Regions from separate parts of the Homo sapiens genome. Here regions 1, 2 and 3 are each linked to region 4. The links are contacts of gene promoters, found by promoter capture Hi-C in blood cells and fetal thymus (Javierre and others, 2016). All regions are on one chromosome and are shown on one strand. Each heading gives the region's core, a stretch centred on a gene start or on the middle of the fragment in contact. The rest is flanking DNA. Distances are from core to core; before and after follow the strand shown. Region 1 overlaps RCC2 (regulator of chromosome condensation 2). Region 2 holds the start of C1orf174 (chromosome 1 open reading frame 174). Region 3 holds the start of RCC2 (regulator of chromosome condensation 2). Region 4 holds the start of CDCA8 (cell division cycle associated 8).

The links. The method cuts DNA at HindIII sites, captures the fragments that hold promoters and counts their contacts. A CHiCAGO score of 5 or more calls a contact.
Region 1: a contact is called between a fragment that was not itself captured here and the fragment with the promoter of CDCA8 in region 4, in 1 of 17 cell types (non-activated CD4 T cells). The highest score is 6.1, in non-activated CD4 T cells.
Region 2: the fragment with the promoter of C1orf174 here is called in contact with the fragment with the promoter of CDCA8 in region 4 in 11 of 17 cell types (non-activated CD4 T cells, fetal thymus, naive CD4 T cells and 8 more); the score reaches 31.4 in non-activated CD4 T cells.
Region 3: the fragment with the promoter of RCC2 here is called in contact with the fragment with the promoter of CDCA8 in region 4 in 2 of 17 cell types (naive CD8 T cells and non-activated CD4 T cells); the score reaches 5.6 in naive CD8 T cells.

What each region holds. Positions count from the first base shown.
Region 1 is chr1:17,420,155-17,424,375 of GRCh38, reverse strand. It overlaps RCC2 (regulator of chromosome condensation 2), which reads left to right. Exons shown (of 13, transcript NM_018715.4): 5 at 1,540-1,671; 6 at 2,085-2,173; 7 at 3,548-3,662. Among named protein-coding and RNA genes, the nearest start is that of RCC2, 17 kb to the left of the region's middle. RefSeq lists enhancers at 1,571-2,325, 4,055-4,221. The HindIII fragment of the contact is 4,272 bases long and covers 1-3,388 here.
Region 2 is chr1:3,898,683-3,902,580 of GRCh38, reverse strand. C1orf174 (chromosome 1 open reading frame 174) reads left to right here and starts at 2,309. Exons shown (of 4, transcript NM_207356.3): 1 at 2,309-2,409. The coding sequence starts at 2,395. It overlaps LINC01134 (long intergenic non-protein coding RNA 1134), which reads right to left and starts at 2,177. Exons shown (of 4, transcript NR_024455.1): 1 at 1,950-2,177. RefSeq lists silencers at 1,229-1,408, 2,489-2,558 and enhancers at 1,609-1,868, 1,508-2,077, 2,078-2,646, 2,647-3,217. The HindIII fragment of the contact is 4,148 bases long and covers 1-3,609 here.
Region 3 is chr1:17,437,291-17,441,327 of GRCh38, reverse strand. It overlaps RCC2 (regulator of chromosome condensation 2), which reads left to right and starts at 1,651. Exons shown (of 13, transcript NM_018715.4): 1 at 1,651-1,783; 2 at 2,806-3,098. The coding sequence starts at 2,814. LOC124903862 (a long non-coding RNA gene) reads left to right here. Exons shown (of 2, transcript XR_007065508.1): 2 at 275-1,192. RefSeq lists silencers at 1,412-1,551, 2,871-2,970. The HindIII fragment of the contact is 15,202 bases long and covers 867-4,037 here.
Region 4 is chr1:37,690,387-37,694,143 of GRCh38, reverse strand. It overlaps CDCA8 (cell division cycle associated 8), which reads right to left and starts at 1,628. Exons shown (of 10, transcript NM_001256875.2): 1 at 1,360-1,628; 2 at 1,111-1,239. The coding sequence starts at 1,453. It overlaps AIRIM (AFG2 interacting ribosome maturation factor), which reads left to right and starts at 3,615. Exons shown (of 5, transcript NM_001350770.2): 1 at 3,615-3,757. RefSeq lists enhancers at 847-1,355, 1,356-1,866, 1,905-2,094, 1,867-2,376, 2,377-2,887 and 1 more and silencers at 2,325-2,494, 2,515-2,574. The HindIII fragment of the contact is 4,527 bases long and covers 1-3,484 here.

The DNA.
Region 1 (4,221 bases), core at 3-2,502, about 20 Mb after region 4:
GATCTCTCGCTGAGCTTCACTTGCGTGGTGGCTCTGAAAGCGCCCTCAGTTCTGACCCTGTGGGCAGGGACAATGTATGTCCCGCCATCAAGACGTGTGATCCCCGAGCAGACAGTGCAGTTGGTGAGGACAGGGTTGGAAGGTGTCACAGGCCCACTGCTCGCCACTCTAGAAGGCAGGGGGCGGCGTCTGGTGTGAGTAGAGTACCACGGGAGGGTGGCTGACGCATTGCTCATGTGGGGTCTCCATCTGTGGCCCGCTCACCCTGTCCTGCCGCATCTCAGTCCACTGAGACTTGCACTTGTTGCTCTGTATTCACATGCCTTTCACATGAACTTGGGCAGCTCCCATTGGAAGCTGGTGTATCTGCCTCTCCTGCTCGAGTGCCAGTGCTGGCCCTTCAGCCCGCCGTTCTTTAATTAGAGCGAGTCAGAGGCTGGTTTCCCTTCGTCGCAATTCCTTCTGTAGTCAGAGGCTGCTCCTGCAAGCCTTCTCCAGGACAGCTGGAACTCATCTTAATGGCTCTGCTGTCTGCCTTTATCACAACCTAAGGGTGAAAAGTTCATTGCTGGAGAAGGTTGCAAAACCCCCTAGAATTGCCCTGACTTCTCACCACTGTAAGATCTCCGTCAGTTTCCCCACGTCAGGTTACATGTGTGGTTTTTCTCTTATCGGGAGGGATCCGAGAGTGGCCGGTTGAATTTTTGTTTTGGAACTTGGTAGTTTGTGTTGAAACCTAGATGCGGTGTAGGGGCTCCCAGCCCTCCTTTTGGCCCACCCAACTTCCACGTCTGTTTGGAGTTGAATTTGGTTCTGCAGAGGACTTGGGGGTAGGGGTTGGCCCTCAGGCCTGCCTTCCGCTGGAATTCACAGATACAGGGCCTTGGTCGCACCTGCAGCAGTCCTGGAGGTGGGGCTGGGCGTGTTGTGTTGAGGGTGGATCTGTGCTTTGTCACCAGGGTTCCTGTGGCTGAGAGTCCTTGAGGGGCGATCCCTAGGGGTGGGATTGGCACTGTTATGTGAGCACCATTTACAGGGTAGAAAAAGGAAGAGAAATATTGGGCAGACACCAAATGGTCCTCAGTGGATGCCCAGAGCACCAAAGTGATTAAACTCTGGTGAGCCAGGTGTCAAAATGGGGTGCTGTCTTAAAATACATCTCAGAGGGTAGGGACGGGGTGGTTGTCTTGCAGGCACTCTAAGTGGGAACGGCGTGTTTCTGCGAGCATGCCCGCCTGTGCATGGTGTCCCTACCACACTGAGCCTCTCATTTCCCTTTGTAGCAGAGACGTGGGAGGTGTGCACGGGTGGTCCCGCTGCTGCCCCAGGGAAGGAGGTCCGGGGAGCTGCAGCAGGCGCCATTCCAGCGGGCAGAGGGCCGGGGCGTTCTTTGCTCTGGATCTTGGCTGTTGGGAATTTGGAGGGTACCTTCCAGAGACAGATGGGCATCATTTGAGAGTGTGTTTGTACTCGCCTTCTCCTGGTGGTGCCGCCTGGACCACCCTCTCTCTTTTCTACTTTCTCTCATGTGATCTGCAGGTCGAAATGAGAAGGGGCAGCTGGGACATGGTGACACCAAGAGAGTAGAAGCCCCTAGACTCATCGAGGGTCTTAGCCACGAAGTGATTGTGTCTGCAGCATGTGGGCGGAACCACACCTTGGCCTTGACGGGTAAGGAGGTGGCTGCTGGTGTCTCCTCTCAGTTTGGCAAGAGGCCAGGTGGTCTGCCTTGGGGATGGGGCGTGGGGTGGTGGAGTTCCCCTTGTGACTCTTGGTCAGGATCAGAAAGAGGCCCTGAGAACCTTGGCATGGAGTGGCTTCTTGAGGGCATTGGGAGCCTCCCCAGTGGCCATAGGAGGCCCATCTGGGAGTAGGAGACGCTGCCCTCTGTTTCTCTGCACACCCAGTTTCTGATGTGAAATGGCTTTGCTGTGAAGCGTCTGCACTGCCAGCTTTTGGGCAGTCTCACTTGCCTTCTGCCTGGCAAATGAGCTGTTTTTATTATTTTGATGCCTTTGATTCTAAATCTAGTTCAAAACATTCACCATTATCTTCCCTTTTGTGATATTTTTCCTTTCTTCCAGAAACGGGCTCCGTGTTTGCGTTTGGGGAAAACAAGATGGGGCAGCTGGGCCTTGGCAACCAGACAGACGCTGTTCCCAGCCCCGCGCAGGTGACCCCTCCTCAGCTCCGGCTCCATGGCTTTTTGTTTCTCTTTACTTTTGTGTTTGATTTTCTAAGGTGGGGTCTCCGTTTGAGTTAATTTACCCCTTGTAAAAACAGGGTCTGGATGTTTAGTTACATGCTGTAGAGTTTTTTTGTTTGTTTTTTTGTTTTTTGTTTTTTTTTGAGAACGGAGTTTCACTCTTTTTGCCCAGGCTGGAGTGCAATGGCGCAATCTCGGCTCACTGCAACCTCCGCCTCCCGGGTTCAAGTGATTCCCCGGCCTCAGCCTCTGGAGTAGCTGGGATTACAGGCATGTGCCACCACACCTGGCTAATTTTGTATTTTTAGTAGAGACGGGGTTTCTCCATGTTGGTCAGGCTGGTCTGGAACTCCTGACCTCAGGTGATCCACCCACCTCGGCCTCCCAAAGTACTGGGATTACAGGTGTGAGCCACTGCACACAGCCTTGCTATAGTTTTTAAAACAGGCTTAGTTTGTGGTCGGGTTGAAAACCATCCTGAAAACATTTTGTTTCCAAATGGAGAAATCTGTTAGAAATGCCTTGTCGTAAGCCTGTTCTGTTCCAAAGAAAGTGAGTGATGTTATATGGATGTAATTGTACTTCCCCCAAATACTTTGTTTTGACCTTGTATAAAGTCACCAGCCAGATGCTTAGAATACAAATACGAGATAGGCAGTCTTTTTTTTTTGGAGGGGAGACAGAGTCTCGCTCTGTTGCCAGGCTAGAGTGCAGTGGCGCGATCTCAGCTCACTGCAACCTCTGCCTCCCGGATTCAAGCGATTCTCCTGCCTCAGCCTCCCGAGTAGCTGGGACTACAGGCATGCTCCACCACGCCTGGCTAATTTTTGTATTTTTAGTAGAGATGGGGTTTCACCATGTTGGCCAGGATGGTCTCCATCTCTTGACTTCCTGATCTGCCTGCCTCGGCCTCCCAAAGTGCTGGGTGTGAGCCACCGCGCCCAGGAGATAGGCAGTCTTTTTTTTTCTAAGAAACTTGAGTTGGAGGGGTGAGATTTATACCTTAAAAACAAACTACTACTAAAGGCAGAAGAATGCTAAGTGCCTAATTAGTGGTCTAGGTGATGAAGGAAGGGAGGGACTTGGTTTTATTGATCTTAAAGAGACAGTGGCTAGGCTTTGAACTGCTCTGTGCTGGGAGGGTGGGGGTCTGAGGGTGCTTCTTTACATATCTTCTAAGCTTTGTGTTCTAGAAATGCCTTCAGCTTTTGCCTTCAGAATTACTGAGTTTATTAAACTTCCGTTTGTAACCTAGTAATTGTTTCCCACCAACATGCAGAGAGGTAGAGGCTTTTTATCAGTCTTTAAAAAAAATGAAAGTCTCCTTTCTTGTCTTTTCAGATAATGTACAACGGCCAGCCAATTACCAAAATGGCCTGTGGGGCTGAATTCAGTATGATAATGGACTGCAAAGGAAACCTCTATTCCTTTGGGTGCCCTGAATATGGTCAGCTGGGTATGGAAGTACATTTTTTAAAAGCTCTGTAATCTAACTGTATATATTCAGAACTAGAGATCAGTGTGGGGCTGCACACACGTGTTAGAAATGTGGGTAATTGATCTCAGATAATAGCCTTTGTCCGTTAAGTGGATCTCACGTTCAGCAGAACAGCGCGTCCTCATTCACAGGATTATGGAGTATTGCAACACTGCCTCAATGGAAAAGTTGGGACTGGAGTCCTACAAAAGATTTCTTTTTTTCTGATTTGGGAATTCATTTATATAAAGGGATTTCAAAGTTAAAAAAAAATCAGACCACCTTCATTCAATTTCACATTTAAAGATTATGCCTTTATTGAAAATGAGAAAATTACGGAAAATGAACGTTGTTCTGGAAACCCTGGCCTGGGCGATTATTTCGGGTTGCCACGTGAGGAGCCCTGGTGGACCCCCTCCCCGTGCGTCATCCCTAGCCAGAATCTAGTTGTCCAGAAACTTGTTTCTTCGATCTCATTGGTGGAAAAGGAGAATTCAGGCATCAGTTCTCAGTTAGTGGGGGGAGTGTCTTCCGACCT
Region 2 (3,898 bases), core at 1,060-3,559, about 34 Mb after region 4:
CCATGAAGCCACAATGCAATGCAGTTCACTTTTCAACCTTTGTAGTTTAAGTGGAAAACCTAATGCTTCTGACAAAACTGCCTGATTTAAATGTTCTCACTTGAAAAAAAAAATAATGATTTAAAAAGGAAATAAGACTCCCATTTATTTGCAAAGCACAGTACGGGCTGCTGGGTGCACCCTGCGCCCGAGCACCTGGGAGCCAGCCCTGGACTGCGCAGCCACCTGCGGGCGGAGAGGGGAGGGGCCAGGTGTCCTCGGCCTCTGATGTGGCTTCCACCCTGCGCCCTTTTCTGAAGACACACATCCTAGAGCCCAGAGAACTTGAGGGCTGGAGGGTTTAAGGCAAGGCTGGATTTCATTTCTATGTTGAAATTCTTAAGAACAGAACAGTGTGCCGAGCGCGGTGGCTCACGCCTGTAATCCCAGCATTTTGGGAGGCCGCAGCAGGCGGACCACGAGGTCAGGAGATCGAGATCATCCTAGCTAACACGGTGAAACCCCGTCTCTACTAAAAATACAAAAAAATTAGCCGGGTGTGGTGGCGGGAGCCTGTAGTCCCAGCTACTCGGGAGGCTGAGGCAGGAGAATGGCGTGAACCCGGGAGGCAGAGCTTGCAGTGAGCCGAGATTGCGTCACTCCACTCCAGCCTGGGCGACATAGCGAGACTCCCGTCAAAAAAAAAAAAGAAAAGAAAAGAACAGTGGGCCTGGCACGGTGGCTCACGCCTGTAATCCCAGCACTTTGGGAGGCCAAGGTGGGCGGATTATTTGAGGTCAGGAGTTCGAGACCAGCCTGACCAACATGATGAAACCCCATCTCTACTAAAAATACAAAAATTAGCCAGGTGTGGTGGCGCCTGCCTGTAATCCCAGCTACTCAGGAGGCTGAGGCAGGAGAATGGCTTGAGCCCATGAGGCGGAGGTTGCAGTGAGCTGAGATCGCGCCACTGCACTCCAGCCTGGGTGACAGAGCGAGACTCCGTCTCAAAAAACAAACAAACAAACAAAAAAACCCACAACAGAACAGTGGTCCTCAGCTTTACAAACACCTCCCTCAGCGGCGGCCAAAGAGGACGCATCACAGCAGCCCAGGCCTGCTAGGGGCGTGTTTGCTGGAGGAGGCGTGGCCGCCGTGTGTCCATCCAGACCTGATAGGGCGCGGCCATTGGAGGAGGCGTGGCCGCTGCGGGTCCACCCAGGCCTGCTAGGGGCGTGGCCATTGGAAAAGGCGTGGCCCCTGCGAGTCCACGTTGGCCCCGGAGAGTAACGGGACGGCGGAGGGGTCATTTCCCGCCTTGCACGTAACGGGGGACGAAAACCGGCCCCCAGCCCGACGCCGGACCCTGGCCTCCTGGGCCCACCGACGGCCTCCACTAAGGCCCCCTCCCGCCCGCAACGTGGGGGACAGCTGAGGCCACTTCCCGGGCGGGCCACCCCAACCCAAAGCGGCATGTCGCGGGGCAGCACAGCCTGCGACAAGCGCGCAAAGCTCCCCAGCGGGACCGCAGCACGGGCAGGCCTGGGAGTCCCTCGCGCTGCTCAAGGCCGCTAACCGGCACTCAGAAACCAGCGCTCTGCGGCACTGGAGAAAGCACTTCCCGCCCTCCTGCAGGCTGTTAGCCAGGGGATGCAAGGGGAGGGGCCCCTCACGGACGTCCCGCCCGCCCCTCTCAAACATGGCGGCCACAGGCGCACCAAAGGAAGAGCCCCTCACAAACATGGCCGTCCGCCCCTCTCATACATGGCGCCAAAGAGGCTTCAAGGGAAGCGCCCCTCACGAACATGGTTGCCTGCCCCTCTCAAACATAGCGGCCACAGGCGCACCAAGAGAAGCGCCCCTTACAAACATGGCCGTCTGCCCCTCTCAAACATGGTGGCCAAAGAGGCTTCAAGGGAAGAGCCCCTCAAGAACATGGTTGCTCCCCCCTCAAGAACATAGTTGCCCACCTCGCTCAAACATGGCGGCCACAGGTGCACCAAGGGAAGCGCCGTTCACGAACATGGCCGTCTGCCCCTTTCAAATATGGCGAACACAGAAGCTACAAAAAAAGCACCCCCCGCAAACATAATCTCTCAGGCCTGCCACGGGCGTGGGAAACATAGCGGCTACAGGGGTGCCAAGGGACGCGCCCTCATGAACATGGCCGGCCACAGGCCGACTTCCTGCTCCAGTGTCCCACCACTGGCCCAAGGCCTGTGACCTTCGCCCGCCGCTTACGAAAGAGCCAACACGGGGGGGGGGGGGGGGGGAATCACATGACGAGGGTGCTGCACTGTGATTGGCTGTGCTGACGTCGGACGCCGCCGCGGCGCGCTCTGCAGACTCCGGGTCGCCGCTCCGCCGGGACGCGTTGGCCGGGGCGCGCGGTGCTTGGCTGCGGTGCTCACACTCATGAGGAGCCGGAAGGTGAGGGCTGGGTCCCGGCAGCAGCTGCGCCGGGCAGGGCGGGGACTCTGGGTCACCTGCTGTCTGGAGAACCGGGGCGGGGTCACGGGGTGCCTGTGGCCTAGGAGCGGCCTCCGCTTGGGCCTCGCCCCCGGCAGTAGTTGGGGGGCTCCAGGCCACGCTCCCGGGAGAAGGAGGGCTGCCAGGTCACGCCCCTGTGAAAAGGGGGCTCCGGGCCACGCCCTCGGAAGAAGTGGAGCTCACAGGTCACGTCCCCGGGAGAAGGGGGCTCCCAGGTTACCCACCCCCGCAGAATGGGGCCTCTGGGCCACACCCCCGAGAGAAGGGGAGCTCCCAGGCCATGCCCGCGGGAGAAGGGGGGCTCCGGTCCACGCCCTCGGGAGAAGTGGAGCTCACAGTTCACGTCCTGGGCAACAGGGGGCTCCCAGGTCACGCCCCCTTGAAGGGAGGTTTCGGGCCACTTTCCTAGGAAGGTGGGGCACCCTCTCCAGAACTGGTTTCAACTCCTGGTAGTGCTAGATGCTGCAGAGCTGAGTTTGTGCCCCTCAACTGCTGCCACTCCAATGGACGTCACACAGCAAGTGACCTCAGCTTGGCCCCATCTACTGAATGTGCTAAAAGTGGGGTGATGAGGGATCCACCAAGAGGGTGGTGAGGATTGAAGGGGGGTGCCAGTGTCTGGCAAGGGGCAAGTGCTCATTGCGTGGGTGTAACAGTTAAGGCGAAGGACCCTTTTCACAGTGGACCCGGCGCGGGTCCCGGTCCACTTGGGAGGCTCTGAGCTGCATGGAGGCTCTCCTGGTTTGTTCAAATGGAGTGGCCACTTGTGAATTCCAACTCCTTTTACTATTTTTATCTTTGAACCAAAACTTGTCTCCTGTAGGCACATATACTTGGATCTTTTTTAAAATGCAGTCTGGTAGTTTCTGCCTTTTGATTGAATTGTTTAGCCCATGCACATTTAATATTATTGATACACTGTAGTTAGGTTTACATTTGCCATTTTACTTTTTCTTTTCTTTATACAAGTCTGTCTTTTTCTTCCCCTGTTCCTTCTTTAAGTGGATTAAAGTGAATATTTCCTAATGTAGCATTTTAATTTAATGATTTTTTTTCCACAACTTTTTTGGGTTTTTTCCAGTGCTTTATGTTTTACCGTATACAGCTTAATCTTCATATTCTCCATATACATCTTAAGCTTCAGATTTGTACTAGGTTAATTCCAAGTGATACAGAAATGTTACTCTTATATGGTTATTTTTGTGGTATTTTGTTATATGTATTACATCTGATAATGTTACAAACTCAACAGTACTGTGTTATCATTATTACTTTCTGTCTGTGGTCATTTCCTTAGCCAGCAGGGGTTTGCTTTCACCCACTTTGTTTTGTTATTGGCAAATATAGTACATGTCTGTATATATTATACACATATTACTGTATACAATTGCTTTTTAAATTAAGAGAAGGAGGTAGAGGAATAGGCATT
Region 3 (4,037 bases), core at 402-2,901, about 20 Mb after region 4:
TCTTTTCTGGTTGGTTCTACTTATGCTTTATATCAAAGCGTCAAAGTTTAACCTCTAAAAAATCTTTTTAAATGCAGGTCTATTAAGAATAGGCTTTCAAAGGGTGCTTCTATTCCATCTTGACTTTTCTGAAAATCTCTGAAACGTACCAGTTGATTTCTCATTTCCAAAGTTCTTTTACATAAGCACTCTCAGCTCTCTTGACACACAGACTTTTGACTTTGATCAAATACCTTAGATTTGGGCCTCTTGGTTTCTCTGTCTTCCTTTACAGGACACTTGATGCTTCCCAGTCCTGTTTCTTGCACTAACAATGAATGAATGAATCACAAAAATCCTAGAACTTTATGCGTTTTCAAGAAGTTGCCTGAAGAAGGAACTTCCTTGTGCGGTACGCCTCAGGAAAAAAGAAGCAGGAGAAAAGCTTTGAGAGGAGAGCAAGTGACGGTGAGATCGTAATGGAAGTGGGGTGGAGAGGTGGAGGGTGGAGACCGGTAGGAAGCAAGCAAGGCTTTTTTCACCCGTCCCAGGACACGCGAACGAGATCAAGCCTCACTGCGGTTCACTAGGGTCTATGCAGGCCCTCGCACCCCTGCCTACCTCCTCAGAACCCAGCCTCTTGGCTCTTCTCACCCCAGCCCCACCAGACAGCTTCCCTCCCAGGAGGTGTCTCTCAAGATCTCGAAATGTGGAGCGTCCCGTTCACTCCACCTGGCCTGGAATACTTTTCCTGCCCCCTTTCATCGGGTCTTATTCATCCTTTAAGTTGTTCAGCATAACTTTCCACCTGAATGCCTTCCCTGGCCCTGGACTAGGATAAATCCCCTCGCCATAATGTTCCTACACAGGCATCACTTTGTAAAGCTTACCACTGTTGTAATTACTTGTTTACTGATCTGTCTTTCCGTTAGGCTGTGCGTTCCACTGGGGTGGAAACCTTGTTCACTGGCTCTGCAGCCCCGGGCACTGTGGGTCTTGCATGTACCGGGGGCTCAGTAAATATTTGGCAAAAAATGAAAAAGTTCCCCTCAAAGCCAGCTTCCAGTGCCTCCACGGCCCTCAAATTAATTATGAATTAATTCACTAATACAGCAAACCTTTATGTGATTCTTCCGTGTCACAGCACCTTGTTACATACTGAGGACACATCCACAGGCAAATAAAACTCAGCTTCTCTCTGCACAGGAAAAAATTATTCAAATTGTATTCATCTTTCATTCCAATCACTCAATTAGGGCACGTCCCTTGTTGGCTGCTGCGTGAGCGAAGTAACTATTTTCCAGCGAGTGTCCTCATGTGACCTGTCTAGACGTGCCCAGGAAAAACAATCCAACATCCTCCTAAGCCGCAAAGAAGTCCCTGACGCGCAGGCCGCACTGCGTGGAAGGCCCAAAGCGCGCTCGCGGGCCCGCGAAAGGCGCAGGAGCAGCGGAGCCGAGGCGGGCGGCGAGGCGCGCGGCGCGCGGCGCAGGCTCGGGTGGGCAGGGCAGGGCCAGGCCGGGCGGGGCGGGGGCGCCGGCAACGGGTCCGCCGGCCGGCAGGGGGCGCGCGCGCCCCGCGCCCCGCGCCTCCCGCCCCGCCGCGCGCTCGCTTGCCGCGCGGCCGCACATGTGTTTCTGTTTTGTGTTGTAGCATTTGTTCTGGAAGCTCGTATTTACATTTTAAGTGTATCTGGTGAGTGGGCTGGAGCCCTCGTCTGGGCCGGAAAAAAAAAAGCCCTCCGATCCGTCTTTTAGTTGCTTCTCTTCCTTTTTTCTCTCCGGTTTCTCATCACTCCAACCAGGTAGGGTCTGAAAATCGACAGTGATCAGTTTGTGGGGTCTGGGAAAGTTTTTTTTTTTTTCCTTTTTTTAAAGAGAAAAGGTTAAAAAAAAACCTGGGGGAGGGGGGCTGGGTGATTGAAGGAATAAAAAGAGGAAGGAAGGCGGATCCACGTGGTTTAATCGGAGACAGACAGAGATCCCATTGTTCAAAATCAATTAAAAAAAAAAAAAAAAGCAGACAGGGGAGAGCGCAGGGACGCCGGGGAGCTGGCGGCGGCCCTGGACACTTTGCAGTCGAATCGGAGACCGGCCGGGCCGCACGGCCGGCAAGGGGGCTGGGAGAGAGTTGGGCACCATTAAAGTTTTTATTTTTCGTGTCTGTGCGAGCAGGTGTTTGGGGCTGGGGTCCAGCTTTCTTCGGGCTCTTCCCCCGTCGCCGGGGGCAGTCCGCCGTAGGGATTCGGCTAACTAGAGCCCGAGGTCGGCACCCCTGAGCTGGGGCCGAACGGGGGTCCAGGGCTGATGCGGGGTGGGGGAGAGCGTTGCATTAAATGCCATGAGTGGGTTTGGGGGGAGACTGCGGAGACAAAAGCAGCAGGTGGGGTAGCCGGGGAGCAGGGGCTCCCTTACCACCCAGGTGCCAAGGGGGAATCCTGGAAGTGTCCCGAAGCCTTCTTTAATGAAAATCTAGGGGACTGGAGGCTGGTTTTACTTTCCCTTTACTTTTGGGGGGCGAGGTTGCAACTGTGATGCTTTGTGGGCAAACCTAACTTACGGATAGGCCGGGGGTCTCAATTCTCCCTCCAGGGGATTGCCTCTGGGGCTCCCGGCTGCCCTGCGGGATTCCCCGAAGGAGCCGCGCCGGGGCCAGGGAGGGGCGCGATTTCCTCTCCCAACTCGCCCCCTCTCCGCCCACCCTGCGGCCGCCACTTTGGGGAGGGCAGAGGAGGAAGTGGAGGCCGGGTGGCTCGTCTCCGCTCCCCTCCCCCCGCGCAGTTTATAACCCGTCCATTGTGCGCCGCTGCCCCGTGTCTCCCTCCAGCCGCGACCATGCCCAGGAAGAAGGCGGCGGCGGCGGCCTGGGAGGAGCCGAGCTCGGGCAACGGCACTGCCCGCGCCGGGCCCAGGAAACGCGGCGGCCCGGCGGGCAGGAAGCGCGAGCGGCCCGAGCGCTGCAGTAGCAGCAGCGGCGGCGGCAGCAGCGGCGACGAGGACGGCCTGGAGCTCGACGGGGCCCCCGGCGGGGGCAAGCGCGCGGCGCGGCCGGCGACAGCAGGCAAGGCGGGCGGCGCGGCCGTGGTCATCACCGAACCCGAGCACACCAAGGAGCGCGTCGTGAGTGAGGGTCAGGGTAGACGGGTGGGCGCAGGGCCGGGGCCGGCGGGCTCAGCGACGCGGCACGGCGCGCGTTCCAGCCGGGGGCCGCCTCGCGTCACGCTCCCTCCCGGCGGCCGGGCCGGCGCAGGCCGCGGGCTGAATCATTGCCTCCGCCTCCGCGCAACAAAAGGGCTCGGTACGGGGCGCGCGGCCCGCGGCCTACCCGACCCCGGGCACCGCGCGGGCGGTTGGCGGTTGGGGCGCGCGCCCGGGCCCGCGGCGGGGGAGGGGCGGCCGAAGCCCGCACGAGGGGGTCATGGCCCCGCCCCCACAGCTCCCTCTGCGCCCCTCCCCCCCCGCCCCGGGAAAGGGGACCTCGGTAAGTTCGCCCGGCCTGGAAGAGGGGGCGGCCAGCGGGCCCCACACGTCCGTGGCCGCCGCTGCGCCCGGGCGCCGCGGGGAGGGGGCGGCCGGCGCTCTGCGGGGAGCGGCCGTTTGCGCCGGGGCTTTGAGGTTCCCGCCGCCTCGGCTCCGGCGCCCGGGGGGGGCGGGGCCTGACGGCCGCCGCGCATGCTCCGCAGAGCCCTCCCCCGAGGTCGGGGAAGCCCCCCGGCTGAGCGGTGCTCGGGCTTTGTTTGCCGCCGGTGGTCCGAAGCTGCAGGATGCTCGCGAGGGCTCTGTTGTAGCCCCCCCAAGTGAAGAAGCATCTCCTAGGGTCCTGGGCGGGCTTCTGTTTTCTCAAATCTTAATTAAGGTCGTGGCTGACTCAAGTTAACGTTCCCGAAAAAGCCTGCAGAGCCGGAGATCTGAACCCGGCATCTGCCGCCACAGCATCTCCCCACCCCCACAGAACTTTCTTTAAGTTTGGTGTGGTGTGGGATATGTTTTTCAGAAGAGGGTCTAAGTTTTCACCAGATTCTCAGATAACCCCCAGAGAGCAAGAACTTCCACCTGGGG
Region 4 (3,757 bases), core at 379-2,878:
TTTGAGACGGAGTTTCACTCTTGTTGCCCAGGCTGGAGTGCAATGGCGTGCTCTCAGCTCACCGCAACCTCTGCCTCCCAGGTTCAAGCGATTGTCCTGCCTCAGCCTCCAGAGTAGCTGGGATTAGAGGTATGCGCCACCACGCCCGGCTAACTTTTTTGTATTTTTAGTAGAGACAGGGTTTCTCCATGTTGGTCAGGCTGGTCTCGAACTCCTGACCTCAGGTCATCTGCCCGCCTCAGCCTCCCAAAGTGCTGGGATTACAGGCGTGAGCCACCACGCCCAGCCTGATGCGCCCATTTTTAGGTTAGCAATTTCCATAAGCTGCAGAAGGAGCTGCTTCGGGTTATTCTTCTATCTGAGCTCTGGTTAACTAACCATGTCATTTATTCATTCATTTTTAAATGGGTAAAATATACATATATTTTTAAAAATACTATTTTCTGGCCGGGCGCAGTGGCTGACTCCTGTAATCCCAGCACTTTGGGAGGCCTATGTAGGTGGATCACTTGAGGTCAGGAGTTCGAGACCAGCCTGGCCAACATGGTGAAACCCCGTCTCTACTGAAAATACAAAAATCAGCGGGGCATGGTGGCAGGCGACCGTAATCCCAGCCACTCCAGAGGCTGAGGCAGGAGAATCACTTGAACCCAGAAGGTGGAGGTTGCAGTGAGCAGGGATCGCACCACTGCACTGCACTGCACTCCAGCCTGGGTGACAGAGTGAGACTCTGTTTAAAAAAAATTAAATAAATTTCCTGATGTGTGAAAATTATGTGAAATTCACATTTCAGTGTATCCATAACTAAAATTTTATTGGAATACAGCCCATCCATGCCCATTCACTACAGCTGTTTTGGACCTGTAAACAGCAGAGCTGAGTTGTCCGACAGAGACCGCCCCGCCCGCCGCCCCCCAACCACCCCCCCATTTTTCATAGAGAAAAATGAAGTAGGGAAGTGAGACAGAGAGTGAAAGGGTCTGCAATTTTCCATAAGTGGTCATGTCAGATCTCATTAAAAGGTGACATCTGAGCGAGCCCTTTCTGAAGGGTGTCACCTAACCCCAAGGGGCTCCTGGCCTCCGCCCAGGGAAGCTCTCCAGCTCTTACCGAAGTAGTCAAGCCAGTTCATCTCGCGCAGAGCCTTGGGGAGCCGCAGGATCTCGATGTTGTAGAGGTTATCCACCTCCTTGAGGAGGTTCTGCCTGTCTGACTCAATTTGCTTGATTCGTATTTCCACTGCGGGAGGGCAGAGCCGACAGGACACGGGTCACGGGCGGGCGAATCTGTGCAGCTCGTGTCCCCACCCGCCAGCATCCCGCGACCGCCCCAGGAGGCCGCGACGGCCTGGCCCCTTACCTTCACGGTCGAAGTCTTTCAGAAAGGAGGCGAGCTTCCGCCTCCGTAAGGAGTTGGTCTTGGCCACCCGACTACTGCCCTTCCTAGGAGCCATGGCGCTCGGCGGAGGCTGCGGGGAGCGGCGGAGATGGGGCAGGGAAGCAAGAAACTGGGTAGGGACGAGGAGGGCGGACGGGGACCACCCGAAGAAGTCGCCAGGCACGTACCTGCGGTCCCGAGACAAGGGCTGAGCAAAACCTCGCTGTGCCAGTGAGAGAGAGCGGCTCTACAGTCAACCGCCACCCAATTCAAACTCCACAGTCACAGGCTGACGAATGAGAAGCCGCCGTCCCACAACATCCAATCACAAGCAAGTTCCTGCCGGCCCAGGGTCTTCCGCCCAATGCGCCCCCTATAGCCTGAGTGCGACAGCGAGGCCGCCGCCGTCGCGGGTACTCCTGGGAGTTGTGGTCCAGGCTTGTTTCCCCGCCCTCCCCACCAACCCACCCGGCTCCGCCCTGGCCGGCTGCGAACTATACAAACTACTACTCCCGGCAGGCCTTGTGGCGGCTCTGCAATACCCCAAGCTCTGGAGGGCTGGGGGCCTACTAGGTCAGGTCGGCTGTAGGATTCTGCTCCAGGGTTGGCGGCTGCTTCTTTCTGGCCTGGCTGCCACTGAGTAGCCGAGGGGCCGCCGTGACCCTCTGACTGATTGACTGGCTGGCTGCCTACGTCGGCGCTCCTCAGGGCCCCAAGCTCCTCAGGCCGAACTTCGGGCAAGTGGCGGGTCGGCAGAGACAGAGCAGCCCCGGCAGGGTTTGACAGAGCAAGGGGGACGGAATGATAGAGGAGCAGGGCAGGGGTGCAGGCTTTGGGGGGGGCGCGCTATCCCGCGGCCAGTCTGGGCAGCGAGTGGGGGGAACCCTGTCGTTCCTCGCTCCCCCGCGGGCCGGCCACTCCCGCCCAGTTCGCGTGTTGGCGCCTCGACTGGGTGCGCAGCGCGGGGCTGCGACTTCAGGTGCAAGTAGTGGCGCTTGGCAGCTGGCCACACGGTGACTGCAGCATGAGCCGCGGCCACCAGGCTCCAGGGAGCCCAGGGCAGGAGGCAGCTCTGGGTGTCGTGGCCGTGGGCCTGGGAATGGGCGTGTAGACGGCGAGCCCCGCCGAGCCGCGGTCCTGTCGGAGGTGCTAACTGTGCATCTTGGTATCTGCCCACGGCCACAGGGTTGGATTGCTCAAGAGTTGTGCTGAGACCCAGAAGGCTAGAGGCTAGTTTCGAAGCTGTAGCTCAGGCTGAGTCTCAAGGCGGGCGGCGACTGGACGGCCAGACCGGCGAGCTCTTGACGGGTTTGTGGCCTGATTGTTTGGATTTGGTGCTTTTCACCTGTGGATGCGGTCTGAAGCCATGTCAGAGGGGTTGTGTTTAAGCGTGCATGTTATAGGCTATGGGAGTGATAATCTTGCCTCTCCCCCTCTGAGTTGAGGAACAATCGAAGAAATAAGCAAAGGTGCCAAGCAGGCTCCTGATGGGCACCAGCGAGCTTGGGGACAGAGCAGTCCAAGCATAGAAGTCCTGGCAAGCCTGGACCTTCCTGGAAAGTCCTTTCTCTCTCTTCCACCCTGGTCTGTTGCTCCATATGCAACAAATATTTGAATGTCGCTCTTCCGCCCGAGGTCAGCCCTGGGCAGTGGGTAGTGGGGGTGACACCCCAGTCTGCTGGGTGCCTGAGGATCTCCATCAGTCAGATGGCCAAGATGAGACGGGATGACAACCCGTACCTCATGTAGGCTTTCCCCCTGCAGGTGTTTTTATGCTGCGCAAGTCGGGCTTCCAGCCTCTCGGTTTCAGGGTTTCCTTCACCCTACTCCCCAGTGAGCCCGAACTCCCTGGGCACCTAGGACGTCCACCTGCATTTTAGCCAGAGCTGCCACGTCAGGAGCCCGTGATTTACTAGTTTTTGCCAGTTGGTTGTGATACACAATGTCAAAAGTGTCATTAAGGCACAACCGGAGGCGCAAGATAAGAGGAAAAGACTCCACAGCTAACAGGACATGCCACCACCGCCACCCAATTTAAACTGCCGCAGGCTGACAAATGAGAAGTCGCCGTGTTTGGACGGTCCCAACATCCAATCCCAAGGAAGCTTCAAGCCGAGTGGCCAGTCCACATGTTGGACTACAGTACCCAGAAGTCATTGCGGCACTACGATATATTTTCGCGACTCAGTAGCCAGGCAGGCCCGCGGAGTAGCTTTGTGGGGAGGTCGCGTGTGAGCATGCGCAGAGAGACTGTGGGCGCGTGGTGCAGTCCCTGGAGGGTTCTCACGCTTTGGCTGTCTGGACTTTTAAGTTTTTCCGCTTTTTCAGGAAGGCGACCGGCAGCCTCGGGCAGGGGAGACAGGACTGTATGTCAGAGAAG